Linked DNA regions of Homo sapiens: all the other regions are linked to region 1. The links are contacts of gene promoters, found by promoter capture Hi-C in human tissues and cell types (Jung and others, 2019). All regions are on one chromosome and are shown on one strand. Each heading gives the region's core, a stretch centred on a gene start or on the middle of the fragment in contact. The rest is flanking DNA. Distances are from core to core; before and after follow the strand shown.

Region 1 (4,313 bases), core at 735-3,234:
GTCATTGCAGTCCTTTAAATAAATTAACCAAAACCATAATAATAACAACAGAAACATTTATTAAGAGCTAAGCGTTTTACAAATATTAATTCACTTAATACTCACATCAATCTTATAAAGTAAGTGCTCTTGTTATTTCCTTTTACAGGTGACCAAACTGAGGCATGGGGGTTTAATAAGCTTACCCAAAACTACACAGCAAGGAGGAGGCTGTGTCGGGAATCAAACTCAGTCACTGTGGCCCCCAAGTCCATGCTCATAACCACCAGGTAAAAAATGTGCCTCCTATTCTAATTTCTGTCTGACAGTGGGCCCAGTCATGGTTTCAATACAGCTCAGCAGAGCAATGCAGCAAATCCAGGTGGCAACACTAAAATACTCAGAAAAGACCAACCAAGCAACCAAAGCATAACATCAGCAATAGCACAACCAATGTGAATCATGAGAACCCTCTGTCTTTATTAAATTTGGGGGAAGAAATCAAGGTCACGAAATCAAGTGACTGGTGATGGGGCCTAGAAATGAGTGTCTCCCCCCACCCCCGGTTTCCGCTCTGGCAGGCGGGTGTTAGCGGATGGTGTACTTGTCCCACTTCTTCTCGGGGTCATAGGCCTCCCAGCGGCTGGCGGGGAAGATGTGCTTGTTCTTCTCGTACCAGCTGCGCAGCACCACCTTGCCCGCGTGCGACTCGTCCTTCTCCATGGTGGCGTCGCTGAGCAGGCGCACGTCATCGTGCACATCGAAGCTGAAGAGCGGCCCGCTCTTGCCCCTCGCCCTGGCGATGATGAAGTCGTAGAAGGTGTGGTAGTGCGGCAGGATGAGGTCCTCCTTGATGAACATGAGCTGCTCCACGCCGGCGGAGCGCAGCTCCAGGAAGTCCTTGCGCAGCCCCTGCAGCGCCTTCTTCAGGAACTGCTGCACCGTGTTGCCCTTGCGCACCCGCACCGTGCGCCGGTGGCCCGAGCCGTCCCAGTAGCTGAAGGTGACCTCCATCTCCTCGTCCTTCACTTTCTCGCGCTGCGCCTCCCACTCTTGGCGCAGCTCCTCTCGGAGCCGGTTCTCCTCCTCCTCGCGGTCGCGGTCTGGCAGGAAGCTGGTGTCCACGTCGGGGTTCTTGCCCAGGTTTCCGGCGCGCCTGGCCTCGGCCGCGTCGGCCTGGTCATCGAGGTCGTCTAGTGCAAAGGACAGGCAGGAGATCTTACGCTTGCGCTCGCGCCGCTGCTCCTGCTCCCGCTGCCGCTCCTGCTGCAGCCGCTGCTCCTCCAGGTGCTGGCGCTTGGCCAGCTGCCGCTCGCGCTCCCTGACCAGGGCCTCCTGCCGGGCCTTCATGTCGTTCAGGGTCACCAGGCCCACCGTGCTGGACTTCAGCTCGGCCTCCACGGCGTCGTAATGCGCCGAGAACCTCTTGTCCACCTGCGACTTGAGGATGGTCTCCTCGGCGATGCGCTGCTTCAGCACCTCCATCTGCTCCCGCTGCCTTTCGCGCTTCTTGAGGAGGTGCATGGCACGGCCTGCCTCGCGCATGGTGCCCTTGTACTGCGCCATGGCCCGCGCCTACCCGATGGGCTCTGCAGCAAAGAGGAAAAACGCGGCAGGTAGAGGGGGGCCCACGCAACGGCGGGGAATGCTCAGCTCTGCGCCTCCTCACAGGGCTTTCGGCAGTGATGGAAGCGTTCAGGGGCTGGGCCGACCTGCTAGGGTAACCACCAACCTGACAGTGTCACCAGGCACCAATTTCCAGCATTTTATTTGACCTCAATAAATGCAAATGCGAACGGCCCCACGTAACGGGTGGCTGCCATGCCTGAGCGCAGCGCTGAATTTGGGGAGCTGCATACAGAGAGGGTTGGGCTACTGAGCGGACCCTTACCTGCCCAAGCACCCTGTCGAGCGGAGACACGCGGGAGCTGACCTCCACGAGAACCACCCACGAGCAGAGGCCCACTCGCCCCGGGCTCTCGCGACAGCCGTGGACACAGGAAGTGGAGGCGGTGCGCCCCCTGGCGGGGAGGCGGGCCCTGAGGAGAGTGCCAGGCTCCTGGTAGGGCGGCTGCGGAAACAGGAAGTGGAGGTGGATCGCCCCCTGGCGGGGAGGCGGGCCCTGGGAAGAGCTCCGGGCTCCTGGTAGGGGCGGTGCTCCTGTGGGGCGGGCCAGCGCGGGGAGGATCCTGGAGGAGGCGCTTCTGGCCCTGCCCAGCCGTGGCTGGCCGGGGCTCCTGTTTTCACGCTGTGGGCAGGGCGGGCCCCCACCTGCTGTGCGTGCGTGCTGAGCCTTCTCGTGCCCAACTGTAAACACGCAGAAGCAATGTGGGCGCAGCGCAAGCTGCTGTGGCCACCCAGAGAGCCTTGCAACACGGCCCTGCTCTCCAACCCTCCTCCTCCCGCCTCTGATGCTACCCCGCTGTGGCGTCTCGTGAACATTACCTGCGCACCACTGCCTGTAATTCTTTCTTATGGCCCCAACACAACCATTCTTTGATAATAGAACCCTACTCGCCCCCCAGTTTCGTGACAAAACCTGCACTCAGCTTGTTTGACCTCTTCTATACAGCAGTTTCCCCCGGGTTCTAAGCTCTAATAACCATGGGACACTGAGTTAAAGTGTAGCAGTGTCTTTACTGTGAGCCTCTAACATGCCAGTTTCCACTGTAACTCTCCAAGAGCAGGGCAGACCAGTTCATGTTTCGTGACCGTTTCTCCCCTGCAGGAGATCTGGTAACACTCGCCGAAACCAGTGCTTCCTGGGACCTAGTTTGGAAAAGCTGGTTGTGAAATACATACTGCGGTTCAGCCTCCTCCCGCCTAAGAGCAACAATGCCTGTGAGCATAACCTTACCAAGAAGCGTGAATCATATGATAATTACATATGGCACCCACATATCCAGAGGAGAACAGCACGGTGTGAGCCCTCATCAAATTGTCCAAGCCAGAAACCTAGGCCTTTTCCTGGAATGACGTTCCTCCACAGGTAATCAATTACAGAAGAGCCTTTCACACTTTCCTTTTTCTCCCATTCCCCACCACTTGCCTTAATCTAGGAAATTAGCATTTTTTTTAATCTAAAGCCTTCTCATTGTTGCCCCATCACCAGAATACAAGAATATCTTATTTTATTGAGCTCTGGGATACTGTGTGTTTTGTTTTTGTTTTTACAAATTGAAGATTTGTGGCAACACAGCGTCAAGCGCCTACTGGCTCCATTTTTCCAGCAGCATGTGCTCACTTCGTGTTCCTGTGTCACATTTTGGTAATTCTTGCAATATTTCAGACTTTTTCATTGTGATATCTGCTATGGTGATCTGTGATCATCGTTCTGTGAGGTTATTGTAATTGTTTGGGGGCACTCCGAAGTGTGCAGTAGAAGACAAAGACGTTTATTGATTTAACTGATAAATGTTATGTATGTTCTGACTGCTCCACTGACTGGCTGTTCCTTCATCTCTCTTCCTGTCCCTAGGCTTCCCTAGTGCCTGAGACACAGCAATATTGAAATTAGGCCAATTAATAACCCTACAATGGCCTCTAAGTGTTCAAGTGAAAAGAAGTGTCACACGTCTCTCACTTTAAATCAAAGGCTAGAAATGATTCAGCTCAGTGAGGAAAGTATGTCAAAAGCCAGGATAGGCCAAAAGCTAGGCCTCTTTTGCCAAACAGTTAGCTAAGTTGTGAATGCAAAGGAAAAAAATCTTGAATGAAACTGAAAGCGCTTTCCTGGTAAACATATGAATGATAAGAAAGCAAAACAGCCTTATTGCTTATATGGAGAAAGTTCTAGTGGTCTGGATAGAAGATCAAACCAGCCACGACATTCCCTTAAACCAAAGCCTAATCCAGGGCAAGGCCCTAAGTCTCTTCAATTCTGTGAAGCTGAGAGAGGTGAGGAAGCTTCAGAAGAAAAGTCTGAAGGTAGCAGAGGTTGGTTCATGAGGCTGAGGAAGGAAGTCACCTCTATAACATAAAGTGCAAGGTGAAGCAGCAAGTGTGATGGAGAAGCTGCAGCAGGTTATCCAGAAGATCTAGCTAAGAGCACTGATGACGGAGGCTACCCTAAACAATACATTTTCAATGTAGACAAAATAGCCTTCTATTGGAAGAAGATGCCATTTAGGACTTTTATATCTAGAGAGGAGAAGTCAATGCCTGGCTTCATGGCTTCAAAGGACAGGTTGACTCTCTTGCTAGGGGCTAGTGTAGCTGGAGACTTTCAGTTGAAGCCAATGCTCACTTACCATTCTGAAAATCTTAGTGCCCTTAAAAATTATGCTAAATCTACTGTGCCTGTGCTCTGTAAATGGAACAACAAAACCTGGAGG
Region 2 (4,313 bases), core at 1,056-3,555, 110 kb before region 1:
CAAAAGGAAGTGAAAACCCAAAAAAGTGGTTAGGGCTGAGAGCTTATATACCATGTTAACAAAGGACAGTAAATTTGTGGAGAAGTGAATAAATGAAAGTGCTTGCGCTTCTAGGAGCAGTAAACCGTGGGAAGGTAAATATATGGGGGAAATTATGGGAAGTAAGTGTTATTTTAATAAGGTTTGCTTATGCAGATTCAGATTGGTGTCTGGTAAGCATCATCTCTTCCTGACATGGGAGAGGACAAGGGGAATATCTTCACAAAGGGAATTTATGTTCTGCTTTTAGGCAGAAAGGGGGCAGGTAGAGAGCTCATCTTGTGTCTGCTGTTTCTTGATTTCCTTCGGCAAAGCAATGTTTATGCCAAAGCGGCATCTTATGGAGTGGCAAACTCTCATCCCCTTTATCTCAAATTCAAATTCCCACAAAGAAAGCATCCCATTGCTTCAGATAGTCACCCTCCTTCTTGCTGAGTTGAGATCTCACATCAGTTCCTCTTCTGAGATAGGGTCTCAGCTCTAAATGGGCTGCCCTTGGGCCCAGCACCTCCTCCTGGAGCCTGGACAGTGAGAAGGCACAGTCTACTTTCTCAGAGGGCCTGTCTGAGTCACACCACTGGGAACTCTTCTCTGAATCAACAGAGGCAGAAACTGATGCCTGAAAAGGTGGGGTGGGAGGTGTTTCCTAGGAGGGTGCCCTTCAACCCTGTGATCTACGTCTCTGAAGCATGTCCTTGCCTCAGTATTGAGAAGTCTGTCTAGTTGGCTTGTTTCTTTCACCTGCTCAAATTGTTTGGGTTAAGCCTGCAAAGCCTGGATTAATAGACACATTTGGCTAACAGAATGTTTACACATATTATCAAAATAATTTATGGTTAGAATTTAAGGTTGTTTGATATCACTGGACACTGAACAAGTGGGCCCCCACAACATAGTGTTTATTTTCATTTTTTCATAAACCTAGATAAATGAATTGCTGTTTTAAAAACAAATACGTAACACAAGGGCAACTGGTATGAAGTTTACCAGAAGTCGCGGTTAGTTAGAAGCTATTATTAATTTTTTTAGAAGTTTGAAGCAAGGCAATGTGGAACATTTTATTTATTCCATTGATATTTATTGAGAATCAACTATGCACCGGGCACTGTTCTAAGCCCTGGAGATACATCAGTGAACCAGATAGACACATTTCTTGCTTTCATGGAACTTAAATAGTATATGTAATCAACCTGTTTTTCCATTTTTTAGAACAATGAAGAGTAGGGCAGGAGTGGAATGAGGGTCAAAAGTAAGCCTTGGAGTCCTGCCCCAAAGTTTTCTAATTAGATTATGAAGGAAAGACCTTATGCAACTAAATTACCCATTTGGGTCAGGTGTAGTGGCTCATGCCTGTAATCTCAGCACTTTGGGAGGCCAAGGCAGGAGATCACTTGAGGCCAGGAGTTCAAGACCAGCCTGGCAAACATAGGGAGACCTCATCTCTATAACAAATTTAAAAATTGGTAGGGCATAATGATGTGCACCTGTGGTCCCAGCTACTCAGGAGGCTGAGGTAGGAGGATCATTTGAGACTGGGAAGTCGAGGCTGCAGTGAGCTGTGATCGCGCCACCGCACTCCAGCCTGAGAGACAAAGGGTCATTTGTGTCCTATTGATATTTGTAATAATTAATGGTCTTGTTGCCCCTTAGGGTTGCTTCCTTTTCCTTTTCCCTCACTCTCATTTTCCCTGACTAAAAAGGAAAAAAACTCAACAAATAACTAGTAGCTGGCATGTTAATTATTAGATCACTTTTAAGCTTTAATAAACCCAATGATGTATGATGAAACCTCAGGCCCCATAGCCTGAGTAGGTACCAGTTTCATCACAAAAGACCCATTGTTGCCTCAGCCAGTGTTCATTGAGTTATGCAGCCCCAGGCTAGCATGAAGAACCCTGCCCTACCTCCAGCTCTGATTTACTTTATCTGAAGCAGATTCATCGCTGCTCACAAAATGAGTTCCTTGCAACCCATTAAAATCCTCAAAGTACAAGGCCATGAATGGGGCACTCCTTCTTGCTACTCTCAGCAAATTAGCAACCTGATTCTAAAATTTATGCAAGACGCAAAAGGCCAAGAAAAGCCAAGACATCCTTAAAGAACTAAAAAATAAAGCACTCGAGAGAAACTAAGACTTAATATAAAGCCACAAGAATTAACACAGTAACATTGAAACAAGAATAGAAAAGAGAGCAATGGAAAAATCAAAGTCCAAAAACAGAGCCACACATATGTAGGTATGTGATCTATGACAAAGAAAGTATTGGCCGGTGGCTCATGCCTGTAATCCCAGCACTTTGAGAGGCTGAGGTGGGCTGATCACGTGAGGTCAGGAGTTCAAGACCAGCCTGGCCAACATGGTGAAAACTCATCCCTACTAAAAGACACAAAAATTAGACGGGCATGGTGGTGGGCGCCTGCAATCCCAGCTTCTCAAAAGGCTGAGGCAGGAAAATTGCTTGAACCCGGGAAGCAGATATTGCAGTGAGTCGAGATCGCGCCACTGCACCCCAGCCTAGGCGACAGAGTGATACTCTGTCTCAAAAAAAAAAAAAAAAAGTATTGTAAGCCGGGCACGGTGGCTCATGCCTGTAAGCCCAGCACTTTGGGAGGCCAAAGCGGGTGGATCATCGGAGGTCAGGAGTTCGAGACTAGCATGGCCAACATGGTGAAACCCCGTCTCTACTAAAAATACAAAAAATTAGCCAGGCGTGGTGGCACGCACCTGTAATCCCAGCTACTCGGGAGGCTGAGGCAGGAGAATCACTTGAACCCAGGAGGTGGAGGTTGCAGTTAGCCAAGATCGTGCCATTGCACTCCAGCCTGGGCAATAAGAGCAACATTCTGGCTAAAAAAAAAAAAAAAAAAAAAAAAGAAAAAGAAAAAAGAAAGTATGGTAGACTAGTGAAAAAAATACATTTAAAAAAGTAATGGTGCAAAGTCATTTGAACAACTATATAAAAAAAAGAAAACCTTGGAACATATACCATCTACAACAATCAATTTCAGAAAGTAACTTTAAAAATAAATGTTTAGGTGGGCCACAGTGGCTCATGCCTGTAATCCCAAAACTTTGGGAGGCAGAAGCAGGCAGATTGCTTGAGTCCAGTAGTTTGAGACCAGCCTGTCCAACATGGCAAAACTCTTTCTCTACTAAAAATACAAAAATTAGGGGAGTGTGGTGGCGTATCTGTGGCCTCAGTTACTCAGAAGGCTGAGGTACAAGAATTGCTTGAACCATGGAAGTGGAGATTGCAGTCAGCCAAGATTGCACCACTGCACTCCAGCCTGGGAGACAGAGACTCCATCTCAAAAAAAAAAAAAAAAAAAAAAAAAAAAAAAAGAATATGAATGTTTAACAAATAGCACATAAGAGAAGATACATTATTTTTATAATATCAAGTTAGAGGAAGATTTCTTAAACAGATCACCAAAAAAAAACAGTACTTATAAAGAAAGAGATTGGCGAATTGGACTACATTCAAATTAAGAATTCCTGTTTATCACCTCTATGCATACAAACTAGAAAATCTAGAATAAATGGATAAATTCCTGGACACATATACCCTCCCAAGACGAAAGCAGGAAGAAATTGAATCCCTGAACAGACTCTGAAATTAAATCAGTAATAAATAGCCTACTGACTACAAAAAGGCCAGTCCAAGATAGATTCACAGCCAGATACTACCAGATGTATAAGAAGAAGCGGTATCATTCCTACTGAAACTATTCAAAAAAATTGAGGAGAGACTCCTCCCTCACTTTTTCTATGAGGCTAGCATTATTCTGACACCAAAACCTGGCAGAGACACCACAAAAAAATAAAGCTTAAGGCCAGTATTCTTGATGAACATCCATGCAAAAATCCTCAACAAAATGCAGGCAAACCAAATCCAACAGCACATCAAGAAGCTTATTCATCACGATCAAGTAGGGTTTATCCCTGGGGTAAAAGGTTGATTTAACATACTCAAATCAATAAATGTGACTTATCTCATAAACAGAACTAAAGACAAAAACCACATGATTATCTCAATATATGCAGAAAAGGCTTTTGATAAAATTCAATACCCTTTCATGTCAAAAACTCAATAAACGAGGTATTGAAGGAACATATCTCAAAATAATAAGAGCCATCCATGATAAACCTACAGACAACATCATACTGAATGGGGAAAAGCTGGAATCATTCCCCTCGAGAACTGGCATAAGAGAAGGATGCCCGCTCTCACCACTCCTATTCAACATTGTATTGGAAGAACAAGCCAGAGCAA
Region 3 (4,313 bases), core at 877-3,376, 64 kb after region 1:
TAACTGATACATAATAGTTGTACATATTGATGAGGTACATGTGATATTTTGATTTGTGCATACGATGCTTAATAATCAAATTAGAGTATTTAGGATAACCACCGCTTCAAACGTTTCTCATTCTCTGTGTGTCCTTGATACAAGTAATTTCTCTTTTAGAAATTCAACCTAAGGAAACCAAGCAGAGTCCACCTTTAAGCCCAGGATGACAGGAGTGACGACATCTGCTTTGACAAGCAGTCATAAAAGTATGTTTTTAAATAAATTCCAGCTTCATGGGAAAATTCTCACAATATAATATTAAATTAAAAAGCAGGATATAAAATTATCTACAGAATATACAGTATAAACCCAAGTGTGTAAGGAACACACACAACTACGTCAAGGCAACAGAATTGCCATTTGTAGTTGTGGAATTCTGAGCAATTTTATTTTCTAATGCATTTTTGTCACATGTGTGAATATATTACAAAAAGTTTTTTCAAAAAATAGGAAATTCCAGTTGGGTACGGTGGCTCACGCCTGTAATCTCAGCACTTTGGGAGGCTAAGGCAGGTGGATCACTTGAGATCAGGAGTTCAAGACCAGCCTGGCCAACATGGTAAAACCCCATCTCTACTAAAAATACAAAAATTAGCTGGGTGTGGTGGCATACGCCTCTCATCCCAACTACTGAGAAGGCTGAGGCAGGAGAATCACTTGAACCTGGGAGGCGAGGTTGCAGTGAGCCGAGATCACACCACTGCACTCCAGCCTGAGTGACAGAGAGAGACTCTGTCTAAAACAACAACAACAAATAAAAATAGGAAATTCCATGAACAAAATTAAAAGTGAAAAATGACACCAAAGAAAATTTTTGCAAGTGAAAAGTGACACCAAAGAAAAATTTTGCAATATACATGAGTCATAAGGTTGCTGTCCCTCATTTATAAAGAACACACATATATCGAAAAGCAAAATATTAACACTTACATAGAAAAATGGTAAAATACCCTGGGGCAGAGATCAGCTCTCCACCAAAACCTGCTTCCCTTTCTCTGCAGTCCTGGCCTTACGCTGGGTCAGCCTGCTCAGGACACTATGTTTTCTGTGTCTCTTGGAGTCTGGTGTGAGTTTGAGGTTCAGCTCTCTCCAGTGGAATGTGACAAAAGTGGGGTGCATGAATTTTATGTCTGGCCCCAAACCCTGGTAAGCAGGTTATAAAACAGTTAAATTCCATTTCCAAAACTTAGTATACAGTGCTGTCAGCACTTTACTGATACGAGCTCATTCCATCCTAACAACAACTCCGTGAAGCAGGAGAGGATCTCCCCACTTTAGAGATGAGAAAGCTGAGGCTAGAGACAAAGTTCACTCTGTGGCATGTGGTCTATTTCTGCATAGAAATGACGTGAAATGTGATACACACTAAAACATTACAGTGCTTATTTCTGAATTCTGACTACAAATACTGTGGTACATATGTTTTCTCAACAAACGTACCATCTGTAATTACACGTGAAATTTTTAAATAGTAAAAAAATTTAAATGACAGCAAAATAATTAGAGTTTTATGGACACTAGATTGCACAATTTAAGACAGTCGGCCAGGGCCGGGCACAGTGGCTCACGCCTGTAATCTCAGCACTTTGGGAGGCCGAGGCGGGTGGATCACCTGAGGTCATGAGTTCCAGACCAGTCTGGCCAACACGATGAAACCCTCTCTCTACTAAAAATGCAAAAATTAGTAGGGCGTGGTGGCGAGCGCCTGTAATCCCAGCAACTTGGGAGGCTGAAGCAGGAGGATTGCTTGAACCCAGGAGACGAATGTTGCAGTGAGCCGAGGTTGCACCACTGCACTCCAATAACTTTTAAGAGGAGTAGATTATATGTAAACCATCCCCATCTCCCTACTTTTTTTTGGTAATTCTAAACACAGAAAACACAATTTTGTCTGCCAAAATTGTAACCCAAGTGTATTAGTCCATTCTCACACTGCCGTGACGAAATACCGAGACCAGATAATTTATAAAGAAAAGAGGTTTAGTTGACTCACAGTTCTGCATTGCTGGAGAGACCTCAGGAAACCGACAGTCATGGCAGAAGGCAAAGGAGAAGCACGTACCTTCTTCACCGGGCGGCAGGACAGAGTGAGTGCAAGCGGGGAAAGGCCAGACGCTTCCGAGCCCGTCAGATCTCGTGAGAGCTCACTCACCATCACGAGAACAACATGGGGGAAACCGCCCCCATGATTCAATCACCTCCACCTGGCCCCGCCCTTGACCCTTGAGGATTATGGGGATTATAATTTGAGGTGAGATTTGGGTGAGGACACAGAGCCAAACTGTATCCCCAAGTCTGAAAGCTTTGAAAGGAGGACAGAAGGGCTGACAATCACTGGGAGGTCACAATCCACCCTGATCCTTCTGTCTAAGTGATATGGAACTGTGCCCCATTTTAAACCATCCTGCCTCCCAAAGGCTCCCACAGTGTCTTAGACACGCAACAGAAGGTGCTCGGAACTGGATATCCCTTGGCATGACGAAGTCAACAGCACCGCTGCCGGTTACAGGGTGACTGTGGTGAACGAACAGTGCCACTGTCACGGGAAAACACTGGGCACCGCTCTGTATGACGGAACGTGACCCTCTGACTCACATCCACCTGTGATAGGGAGGCCTACCTACCTGGGCTGCCCATGCCGGCCGCTGAGCTTGTGACAGATGCACCTATACTAACAAGTTCTAAATCAGCAAACTTTTTCTGTAAAGTGCCAGAGAGTGAATATTTTAGGCTTTCAGGCCATACAGTCTCTGTTGCATCCCTGCCTCATAGTGTGAGTGTGGTATGGCTGTGTCTCAATAAAACTCTCTTTTTTTTTTTTTTTTTTTTGAGGCAGAGTCTTGCTCTGTCACCCAGGCTGGAGTGCAGTGGTGTGATCTCGGCTCACTACAACCTCCGCCTTCCAGGTTCAAGCAATTCTCCTGCCTCAGACCCCCGAGTAGCTGGGATTACAGGCATGTGCCACCATGCCCGGCCAAATTTTTGTATTTTTAGTAGAAATGGAGTTTCACCGTGTTTGCCAGGATGGCCTTGATCTCCTGAACCTTGTGATCTGCCTGCCTTGGCCTCCCAAAGTGCTGGGATTACAGGCATGAGCCACTGTGTCCAGCCAATAAACTCTTTTTACAGCCGGGCACAGTGGCTTATGCCTGTAATCCCAGCACTTTGTGAGGCAGAGGCAGGCGGATCACCTGAGGTCAGGAGTTCGAGACCAGCCTGACCAACATGGTGAAACCCCATCTCTACTAAAAATATCTTTAAAATTATCCAGGCATGGTGGCACATGCCTGTAATCCCAGCTATTCCGGAGGCTGAGGCAGGAGAATCGCTTGAACCCGGGAGGTTCAAAACAAAAAAACAAAACAAACAAAAACAAAAACTCTTTTTACAAAGACTGGCCCGACAATTCATCCACCTAACCGAAAACCAGTTGCACCCCAAAGGCTATTGAAATTTTAAAAACTGGCCAACCTTCCATGGTTTGCCACACTGTGATACACTTGTGCCCTTGCCCTCCAAGGGTGGCACCTGGATCAGCAGCACCAGCCTCTCCTGAGAGCGAGTCAGAAACGCGGAAATCACGCCCCTCCCCAGACCTACTGAGTCAAGATGTGCGTTTGAAGAAGATCCCTGGTGATTGGTGTGCACATTACAGTGTGAGAAGTCCCGGCGGAGAGCAGATGCTCAAGCCCAGCCGCTCCTTGGTATCTCCTGGGGAGGTTTAAAAACATACTGATGCCCTGAGATTCTGATTTGGTACTGGGTAGAGTCCAGGCACGGGGATTCTGGAAAGCTTCCAGGATTGTCATATGTGGTCAGAAGTGAGACTAAATAGAGATGGTCACCTGAACATACCCAGTGGTGACTCAATGATGAAAACACTGCCTCTCAGAAAGATGGATAAAACACTCAGCAGCCCTGGCTTGGCTGTCGAGATGCCCATTTGTTTCTACCTTGCCAGGGTGCTGGCCTGCACCCAGCCCCAGGGAGGGGCCCCCTGCCCACTCGTGGTCTCCTGAGCCGGTTCTTGTGTGGCTTTCACAACCAGTCCATGGAGGACAGAGAGTCCTGGGAGCCAGGCCCAGCCACGTGCAGAGCAAGAAGCCAGGTGCTGTGATTTAGCTCCTGGAGACCATGGAAATACTTAGATGTCATTGATCCAGATAGAATGGATGACTGTGAAGTCAGGACAGATCATGTGATCAGAAAGCTTAACCCTGAATTTCATCACAGAACATATTTATAAAAAGAACAAACACGAAGCTGCTGGA

Evidence for each region. The method cuts DNA at HindIII sites, captures the fragments that hold promoters and counts their contacts. A contact is called where the count stands out against the background at its distance.
Region 2: a fragment that was not itself captured here is called in contact with the fragment with the promoter of FAM50B in region 1 in 6 of the 25 tissues and cell types used here (H1 embryonic stem cells, IMR-90 fibroblasts, aorta and 3 more).
Region 3: a fragment that was not itself captured here is called in contact with the fragment with the promoter of FAM50B in region 1 in 2 of the 25 tissues and cell types used here (pancreas and spleen).

Annotation. Positions count from the first base shown.
Region 1 is chr6:3,847,044-3,851,356 of GRCh38, reverse strand. It overlaps FAM50B (family with sequence similarity 50 member B), which reads right to left and starts at 1,984. Exons shown (of 2, transcript NM_012135.3): 1 at 1,871-1,984; 2 at 40-1,568. The coding sequence starts at 1,545. The coding sequence ends at 568. It overlaps LOC107986557 (a long non-coding RNA gene), which reads left to right and starts at 1,991. Exons shown (of 3, transcript XR_001743931.2): 1 at 1,991-2,041; 2 at 2,708-2,968. RefSeq lists an enhancer at 1,801-1,920 and a silencer at 2,191-2,310. The HindIII fragment of the contact is 6,203 bases long and covers 1-4,313 here.
Region 2 is chr6:3,953,822-3,958,134 of GRCh38, reverse strand. No RefSeq gene overlaps it. Among named protein-coding and RNA genes, the nearest start is that of TGILR, 44 kb to the right of the region's middle. The HindIII fragment of the contact is 7,045 bases long and covers 1-4,313 here.
Region 3 is chr6:3,782,930-3,787,242 of GRCh38, reverse strand. It overlaps LOC124901244 (a long non-coding RNA gene), which reads left to right. Exons shown (of 2, transcript XR_007059412.1): 2 at 1-284. Among named protein-coding and RNA genes, the nearest start is that of PXDC1, 33 kb to the right of the region's middle. The HindIII fragment of the contact is 7,817 bases long and covers 1-4,313 here.